2 separate regions of the Homo sapiens genome follow, and region 1 is linked to region 2. Evidence: promoter capture Hi-C in 16 types of primary human blood cells and fetal thymus (Javierre and others, 2016). All regions are on one chromosome and are shown on one strand. The core of a region is centred on a gene start or on the middle of the fragment in contact, and the rest is flanking DNA. Distances in the headings are between cores, read along the strand shown.

What was found. The method cuts DNA at HindIII sites, captures the fragments that hold promoters and counts their contacts. A CHiCAGO score of 5 or more calls a contact.
Region 1: a contact is called between the fragment with the promoter of ZNF17 here and the fragment with the promoter of ZNF583 in region 2, in 3 of 17 cell types (neutrophils, total CD4 T cells and activated CD4 T cells). The highest score is 8.4, in neutrophils.

Annotation. Positions count from the first base shown.
Region 1 is chr19:57,409,080-57,413,763 of GRCh38, forward strand. ZNF17 (zinc finger protein 17) reads left to right here and starts at 2,082. Exons shown (of 4, transcript NM_001330617.2): 1 at 2,082-2,327; 2 at 4,517-4,557. The coding sequence starts at 4,537. RefSeq lists enhancers at 2,086-2,195, 2,276-2,335 and a silencer at 2,579-2,781. The HindIII fragment of the contact is 5,033 bases long and covers 1-3,256 here.
Region 2 is chr19:56,402,803-56,407,889 of GRCh38, forward strand. It overlaps ZNF583 (zinc finger protein 583), which reads left to right and starts at 1,530. Exons shown (of 5, transcript NM_152478.3): 1 at 1,530-1,650; 2 at 4,224-4,321. The coding sequence starts at 4,313. RefSeq lists an enhancer at 954-1,093 and a silencer at 1,554-1,763. The HindIII fragment of the contact is 8,045 bases long and covers 1-4,566 here.

The DNA.
Region 1 (4,684 bases), core at 832-3,331, 1.0 Mb after region 2:
CCAGCCTGGCCAACATGGTGAAACCCCGTCTCTACTAAAAGTACAAAAATCAGCCAGGCGTGGTGGCCATGCCTGTAATCCCAGCTACTCAGGAGGCTGAGGCAGGAGAATCGCCTGAACCTGGGAGGCAGAGGTTGCCGTGAGCCGAGATCGTGCCATTGCACTCCAGCCTGGGCGACAGAGAGAGACTCTATCTCAAAAAAAGAAAAAAAAAGTTTGTTTAGTTTCTGTTGGTAAATATCTAGAAATAGAATTGTAGGATGGTAGGGATGTATTGTTGGTAAATGATTAACATGTTTTTAATTTTCAGTTTTTTCAGAGACGGGGATCTCACTATATTGCCCAAACTGGTTTTGAACTTATGAACTCAAGTAATCCTCCCGTCTTAACTTCCATGTAGCTGGCACTACTGAACAGCTTTAACTCTTCCAGACCTTCAGTTGGGTGGTTTTTTCTTTTCCTTTCGTTTCCTTCTTTCTCTCTCCTTCCTTCCTTCTTTTTGTAATTTGATAAACCAAATTTCAAGACTTTGGCCAAAAAACAGTCTTCTCCTTTACTGAATATCTCAGTGCTCCATTTTATTTTTCCCTCACCAATTCTGCAGGAGAGATCACAAGACTATGTCCATATCTTTATTTGTGGGGGTATGATTTTCAGCTAACATAGCTGCTAAGTGATTTAATTTACAATTATAGTGGTAGAAAAATAGCTCTAACTTCTGAGGTTTTGTAATTTATTGTAAAAAGCGGAATACAGGACATTTAAAGTGACCTGACAAGGTCAATACAGGACTGAGGACTAATTCATTAAATACGTCTTACGTGTCTTAGAGGACCACAGACAGCTAGCAACCCTACTCCTAATGTGTCCCATGCACTTAGTATTGTACCTGGCATCGAATGAGTGTTCATCAAATATGTTAGAGTAATAAATACGACAGCACAGTTTCCCTATTCAGCTTTACTTTTCTGGTAACTCTTTTAATATATAGTCTTTACCTCTCCCTTCAAGCTGTTAATGCACAATGTTTTCAAGTTTGAAAAAGAATCAGATTTTGGACACCAAACTTGAGTGTGTCCAAGGTTCCAGGACAACCTTAGCTTTTTTCCTCCTATCACAAATATGTTTCTCTATAACTATTTTTGCCACTTTCTTTGGATATCTACATAATCGTCATTAATAGTTTCAGTAATAGCCATTTCACAAGAGTTATTCAGAGACAATTTCAACTCCCTGTGCAGACACTGTTGATACAATTTCAGGCGAAATGATAAATCACTTTCCACTAATGAGATGAGATCATGCATTCCCAAACCTTTATCTCAGGAGTAAGATGCTTTCTTTGCACAAGGGCTTTGACTGGTGGAAGGCCACACTATTCTGGCAGATAATGGTAGATAAGTCGCTTTTCCTTTTCAGTTAGGTTTCAGTCTCTTAAAATAAGTGGAAAATATCTCAGATATAAAGTAATAAGTATCATGTGAATAAAGTGTTGCTGGGTAGGCTGAAAGACAATAACTGATTATTCAGAAAGGAAAGATATTACTCCTCAAACTCCCCATCATGCCATGTCTGGGTCTTTTCAATGTGCCCAGCAGAGCACATTGAAGATCATAAAACAGTCTCCAGAGCTTCGTTCTGTGTGTATTTGGCAAGCACAAAAGAGCTGACCGCTATGCGTGGAAGACCAGTTCTTTATGGTTGGCCATGTTCCTTCGGATGTTCGTCTTTTGGGAACTTGCTGTGCTTTACAGAATCTGAAAGGACAGGTCTCTGAAACATTTCTCTGACTTGTTCTAGACTGCCTTCCGGGAAAATCTGGATGCTTGCCGTTTAAAAGCCAATGAAGCCCCTCCACGTCCTTGGAGCCCCGCAACTGCATTTCTCAAAGCCTCAGGAGGATCCTCCTGGCTTTCATCCTGAACGCGAGTTAACTTAAGTTCAGAAGCGGGGCAGGCAGTGGCCTGGGAACTACATTACCCAAAAGACACAGCGGCGGACACAAGCAGCGAGTGTAGCCAATGAAGGCCTAGCAGAGCGGCGTCTACGGGGGTTCGCAATGCGTGTGGGCGGGACTTCCTGCAACGCCTCCTGGGGTTGTCAATATGGCTGCGTTGGGATCTGTTCACCTTCAGGCTGAGTCGAGACTGAGGTGAAAAAGCGGAAAAACGCGAGAAAAGGTTTCCCCGTTGTACAGAGGCTAGAGTGAGGCTCGGTTGAATCGGTTGCAGGCGTTGGTGCCTCTGTCAGCGTCCAGGTCACTGCCGCTCCCGCCCCGCTCTTCCCTGGCTGTGCTGGCGGAGGCTGCGCCGATGAACCTGACTGAGGTGGGTGCCGCGTCCCAGGGCGCCCCGCCCGATCCCTCCTCCGAGTGCCGAAGCCCCGAGGAGGGGCCCTGCAGGTCAGGCCCCTGTGTCCCAAAGAGAGGAGCGTTCTTGTGTGGGGTACCGGTGTCCGCGGTGCTGTGAGGCGGGGGAGCTCCTGTCAGGGACCTGCACGTGCGAGGCTTAGAGGTGCTGCAGAGCGGGCGGCACTGGGGAGCCCGAGCGTCTTTGTCTCCACGGAGCTGAGGGTGAGGCGGAGTCTCGCCTGGGAGGGCAGCGGAGCTGCTGAAAGCCGTAGAAGGCTGTGCAGGAAGGGTTATGCCCAGAGGTAGACGTTTAAAGTTGGGAAAAACAGGATGTTAAACCAGGACAAGGGGACCGCTGAGGAGACCCCTTGAGTTATGGTAGGGATGGGCCAGAGGGGTTGCAGTAGAGGGGAAGTGTGATGAGATTCTGGATGGATCTCAGAGATAGAGTCGACAGGATTTCCTGCTGCATCAAATGTAGCAGTGAGGGTAGTGAAGGGTCTATTCCATGGATTTTGTTTTGGCCTGAAAATCTGAAAGAATGGAGTTGGAGAAGTCAGCTTAGGGAGCAGGTTTCAGAGAGGATTATGAGTTGCATTTTGGAGGGCTGAGTTTTGGAGGGCAGATCATGGGTGGGTCCATAAGCCTGACGCTACCTTTAGAAAGGCGCAGACCTGTCATAGGAGGGATTCTGGCTCATATCTGCAAAAACGGAGTTCTGAATGGGTTAAGGAACTGGCCTAGGCTGGAGACTGAGGTGTGAGGTGGTTTAGATTTCTGCACCTGCAGACCCAGCAGCCCCCCAGGCCCACTCTGTGGAACAATAGGAAGGTCATCCAGACTAGTGGGGACATTGGGTCCAGACGGGGGTAGGGCTTTCTCACATCTAGTCAAGGGCCTCCAGCAAGCTTCCAGCAACTGAATTTGTAGCAGGCAGGCCTGGTTGCTGATGGGACCAGTAACTGACCTGCTTGCTTATCCCCTCCCTGCAACTTATTTATTTATGAATGTGTAAAACATTTTTTTTTTTTTTGAGACAGAGTCTCGCTCCATCGCCCAGGTTGGAGTGCAGTGGCGCGATCTCGGCTCACTGCAAGCTCCGCCTCCCGAGTTCAAGCAATTCTCCTGCCTCAGCCTCCCGAGTAGCTGGGACTACAAGTGCCCGCCACCACGCCAGGCTAATTTTTTGCATTTTTAGTAGAGACGGGGTTTCACCGTGTTAGCTAGTATGGTCTCTATCTCCTGACCTCATGATCTGCACGCCTCAGCCTCCCAAAGTGCTGGGATTACAGGCATGAGCCACCGCGCCCGGCCGAATGTATAAAACATTTATTTAACCACTAATGAACCAGTATCCTTCTAAATATGTACACATAGGTCGGCAGTTAGAAATGAATGTAACCAATAGTTAAATTTATTCACTTAATAATTGTTGAATGTTGATTTTTCTTTTTTCTTTTTTTTTTTGAGACGGAGTCTCGCTCTGTCGCCAGGCTGGAGTGCAGTGGCGTGGTCTCGGCTCACTGCAACCTCTGCCTCCCGGGTTCAAGCGATTCTCCTACCTCAGCCTCCCGAGTAGCTGGGATTACAGACATGCGCCACCATGCCCATCTAATTTTTGTATTTTTGATAGAGACAGGGTTTCACCATGGTTGGCCAGGATGGTCTTGATCTCTGCACCTCGTGATCCGCCCACCTCGGCCTCCCAAAGTGCTGGGATTAGAGGCTTGAGCCACCATGCCCGGCTGAATGTTAATTTTTCTATTTGCTTGCAATGGAAAGTTTTATGTATCACATTTCCTTAACACCGTAAGAAGTGGGAAAAATACACACCCAAAATTTCAAAACCCTTCCATGTCATTTGTACCGAAAACATGTAAAAAATATTTAATCCAGTAGAAAGAAATTGCTGATACATAGTGTGTACTACTTATATTTGATGCCCATATAAGCCCTATTAGTTGGCAATCCTTTTAATCTCTATTTTACACATAAGGGCACCGAGACTTAAGGAAGTTCAGTCCTCATCAAGACACTGAACCCTGAGGACTTACTGTGTACCCTCAGATAACTTTGCTCTAGTTGCAGGGCCAGAGGTGGTTGTACAGTCAGCCTGTAGGATGCTGCAATGCTGTCTTAATCCTCATGGCCTGCCTCTTCCCACAGGGTTCATAGCAGTGGCAGCAATGCTTATGGATGCTGGACAGGTGAGTGGAGAGTGTTTCCAGCTTTCACCCATCCCAGATGGTTTCAGCATGCTGATATAGGGAATGGTGTTATCCTGAGACTGTTCACCTTTTCTTCTCTCTCCCTTGGGTCCAAGGAGAGCCTGTA
Region 2 (5,087 bases), core at 280-2,779:
ATTGTGAAATATATATTTGATCTTCCTAGCATAGAACTTCTAAAATCCTTAGAAACTACAAAGTAACAGTAAAAACTCATTTTGTATGCTAATGAGTTGACAGCTGGCAACCCCTATAGAGTTTCAGGATGGGGACTGGTTATGGAAAGACCAAGACATGACTAGAAGGTTGGGACATTCAACCCCACCCCCAACCCTAAGGAGGGGACGGGATTTTAATCAACCATGCCTATGTAATGAAGCCTCTGTAAAACTCCCAAAAGACAGGGTTTAGAGAGCTTCCACCCAGCTGAACATGTGGAGGTTACTGGAAGGTGCAACACCCTTTTTTCTGTACTTTGCCCTACGCATCTCTTCATCTATATCATTTGTAATATCCTTTATAATAAACTAGTAAACATAAGTGTTTCCTGAGTTCCGTGAGCCACTCTAGCAAAATATCGAACCGCAAAGAGGGGGTGGTGAAAATCCCAATTTGAAGGTGGTGGAGTCAGATGTTCCAGAGGCTAGACTTTAGTGGGAAGTGGGAAGGGGGAGGCAGGCTTGGGGACTGAGCCCTCAGCGAATGGTGTCTGACCCATCTCCAAGTAGACGGCGTCGGAATTAAACTGGAGGACACCCAGCTGGTGCCCGCTGCAGAACTCACTGAACTCATTGCTTGCTTGAGATGTGTGGGAAACTCCCCTATATTTGGTCAGAAAAGTCTTCTGTTATGATTAGTTGTCGTTGAGATAATAGAAAAAAATGCACCTTGCGTTTTTTCCACTGATTCAGAGGGCATAACTGAAAGAATGAAGAACTGAAAGAATGATCTTAATACTCTGCTTCGCTTTTCTTGATAATACGCATTACTTCCCAATATGCATCAGTGTCCTTTATTATTAATTTTTTCCTATTGAATTCCTCCCGCATTAGAATGCTGCTCCATGAGGTGGGGATTTTGTCTGCTTGTTCACTGCTGTGTGCCCAGGGCCCACGACAGTGCCCGATACAGCAGGCGCTCAATAAGTGGCGAATGAAAGACAGGGCAAGGCGGAGAGAGAAGAAACAGAAAGGGAAAGAGAAAGCCCGGGCCGCCAGAGCGCTTAATCACACGTACATCCTACCGGGCCCCTCTCCAGCTGGCTCAGGCTCCACACTGGTCCTCCAGCTCCCTTTTCTCAGCGATGGACTCACAGCCCCACCCGGAGCGCTGGAGCGCGGACGCGGTCACTGCGCGTGCGCCTCACCGCGCTGGCACCCCGGCCTGGCAGCCTTTGGGGACCTGAACCAGCTGCGCCTGCGCAGGTGGAACGGGTGGAACGGGTGGGGGAGCGGACAGTCGAACGGCCTGAGAGGGCTCAGCTGGTCCGGGTGGGATTCTGAAGGCCAGCGGAGGTGGGCTTACTAGGGAAAGGGGCGCAGCAGTAACTACCCGCAACTGAGCGGCGGGATCTGCGGCCGCCCGGGGCCCTCGGCCAACATCCCAGCATCCTCTGCGCCGCGCCGGCCCCGGACTCCATTTCCCAGCGGCCCCTGCGGCCTGCCCTAGGGCTGCGGCGCCTTTGTGAGCGCGGCCGCCGGCCAGGATCGAGCCCTGGCCCGGGCCCTGGCCCAGCCCCGGCCTCCAAGGACCGCGCCGAAGGAGGTGCCCACTGGAGGGAGGAGGCGGTGAGGAGCGCGGGATGGAGCTGACGCCGGGAGCGGCCATGCCACCATGTGTGGGACCGTGTGTGACAGTGTGTGAGAATGTGTGAGACATTAAGGAACCGTGTGTGACAATGTGTTTGACAGTGTGGAATCGTGTGTGAGACCATGTGTGACTGTGTGAGAATTTGAGACCGTGTGTGACAGTGTGAGAATGTGAGGCCGTGTGTGAATATGTGTGTCAGTGTGAGACCATGTGGGACAAATGTGGGACTATGTGTGACAGTATGAGACTGGGTGTGAGAATGTGTGCGACAGTATGAGACCGTTGCCCCGGTGTATGCGGGAGCCTTTGACAGTATATGGGACCGTGTGGGACTGTGTGACACTGTATGTGCTTAAGACCACGTCACCATGTGTGAGACTGGGAATGTGTGACAGTGTTAAACTGTCATTATGTGTAGACCACGTGTGAACAGTGTGTAAGACCATGTCACTGTGTGTGTGACCTGTGTGTGTGGGATAATGTAAGACTGTGTGACAGTGTGTGTGACTTTGTGAACAGAGCTTGACCGTGTGTGTAGGATTAGATGAGACTGTGACAGTATGTGAGACCATGTCACCGTGTGTGAGGCTATGTGTGGTTGTGTACGGTGTGTGGCTGTTGATATGGGACCACATGAAACTGCGACAGAATTTGTGTGACAGTGTGTGAGACTGTGTCACTGTATGTGAAACTGTATGTGAACAGAGTTTTTGTTGTTGGACTAAGATTGTATGTGACAGTGTTTGAGATTGTGCATGACAGTGTGTGTGATTATGTGAGACTGAGGGAGATGGTGTGACTTAGCACTGTATGTCATCCCGACAGTGAGTGTGACAGTGTGACTGAGAATGGCCTTATATGACCCATTGTGAGAGCAGGGCGGGCTACAATGTGGGGGCATGTCCATAGGTTGCCAGGGGAGGTGCCAGAATGAGAAACTATGTGGTTTGTTGTCTGTGATTTGTGTGGGCAGGAAGCTGTGTGGGTGCTTGGAGATGCTGGTGTGCTCTGGGGTTTGGGAGACTGCTGTTGTGGTGGAGAGACAGAAAGATTGAGATAAAGGGGAAAAGATGGAGAAAGGGAGGGACGAGAGCTGAAAAGGGAGAGACAGACAGGAGCCTCAGCCTTAAGCCTGAAAAGCTGACCACGCTGGCTGCTTGTCCTCTGGCACAGTAGTTTTTCCATCCCTCTCAGTCTCTGGGGGCACGTGAGGAATTTAAAAGGAAAAAGGAATGGGAGACCTACCATGTGCTGGTTATGAAAATAAATGACAGAAAGATGAAAATTAAGCACTGTGCTCAATGCTTTATGTAGATCATTTCAGAATCCTCCCAACAATTGATAGGGAATAGTTACCATTTCACTGATAGAGAAACAGGTTTGCAGTGGTTACCTAACTTGCCAGAGGTTGTATAGGTAGCATGTGGTGGTTTGGCTGTTTGAGACCAGGTGTTCTGATCCTTAAGCCTAGTAGTTCTTACCACTGAGTTATGCCACTTCATAGGTAATGGCTTTATTCTTCAAGGCAGTGAGGTCTGCTGGACAAGAATTCACCATAGGGGGTTTGGATGACTGTTCAAGCATAGCCTGCTCCTCCCTCCCTCTCTCCTTCTTTCTGTCTGAGGAGATTGCCCAGAAAAGTCAAGAGATTAGTTTTCAGTTGTGGGTTGTCATAAGCCAGGACCAGAAGTAGGCCGTCTTGACTCTTTGATCGAGTGTCCACCACACTACATGGACCCTCTGATACTCACTCTGTGTATAGAGATGCTTTCTCTGAGAAATTTCACTTTGTAGCTTTATCTGTCATCCTTGCAGAAAGGGTGGGAACATATTTCCTTTCAACATCATGATCGGGTGGAAAGAATTAAAAGTTAGAACTGGTTTCCAGTTTGGCTTAATTATTACCATGATGCCTTGAATAATTACTCCGATGAAGAGCCTTCATGTGTGAAAGAGGGGGAAATCCTTGCTTGGTAATACCATTCTGTAATTGCTGTTTTTGTTTTAAATTATAAATGGGGAGGTAACTTAAACACAGAACAGGTATGTTGTATTCTTTTTTTTTTTTTTTTTTTTGAGACAGAGTCTCGCTCTGTGGCCCAGACTGGAGTGTGGTGGCGCGATCTTGGCTCACTGCAAGCTCCGCCTCCTGGGTTCACGCCATTCTCCTGCCTCCTCAGTAGCTGGGACTACAGGCGCCCGCCACCACACCTGGCTAATTTTGTGTATTTTTTAGTAGAGACGGGGTTTCCCCGTGTTAGCCAGGATGGTCTCGATCTCCTGACTTCGTGATTCGCCAGCCTCGGCCTCCCAAAGTGCTGGGATTACAGGCGTGAGCCACCGCGCCTGGCCCGTATGTTGTATTCTTAAGATCCAAAGCATGTGGGAAAAAGAATTGTAAATTTAGATATAAATGAATTGCTCAGTGATACCTCTAATTTACTCCTGAGGTTGGGGAAAGAAGGAGAAAGAGAAGGAAAGGTTTCTAGGCTGATGATACTGAGAGCTGCAGGGCAGGCCTGGCATTTTATGGTTTCTTTTCCTTCTCCAGCTCGACTTTCTCAGGATACTGTCCCTCTCCCACAGAGGAGCTGAAGGAGTAGGACAGAAGAACTGTCAAATTCTGGAATCCTTAAAGCCATGTCCAAGGTAAGGAAGCATTTCTTCTCTCTTCCCTAAAATGCCATCTTATTTTTTAGGTTATACGAACATTTTGTTTTTCTTCCAAAATTCTGCAACCTAATAAGGTTCCATTCATCCAGTGACTCGTTCCTCATATCTTGCTTTCCAGTAAAAGTCTCCAAAAGCCTAGTTATCTTTTTTTCCACAGCCAGCATTTTTATCTTCACTCAAGAAATAGTTCAGCACCTTCTCTGGGTTTAGTGTCTGTTAGAAGCTTTCAAGATGCAAAAATACACTCATTGGCATATGTAAACCTTCATTGTAGTAAGTTGATTGAGACTGAGGTGTATGTTCAGATGTAACCACTAGCATAAATAAAGCTTTTCCATAGACCTAGGTTTGAAAAGAAGGCAAGACAGGAGGGTTATCAGGTGGTCTTAGTCACAGAACAGGGCAAAGTCTCTTGCTCAAAGTGATCTTGAGGAGTGAGATGTGTTGAGTCTTGAATATTAAAGTGTGGGTCAGCTAGGGCAGGGATTTTTCCAGGCACTCCGTGGGCTTTGAAGAACAGTATTCCAGGGAATAATGAGGTACCATTTTAGGGACATTCTGAGTGTCCACAGCTATGTTATTCTAGGTCATCCAGTTAAGATTAGTGGAATTAATATGTAAAAAATAGCAGAACTTTGTTTTGGAAAAGACTAATGGGAGAGCACTTGAATCTGCATTAAAATAAAAGCTGTATATGTCTATAATAATGAAAACAGTTGATAGTGTGGAATGGAGCCAGAAG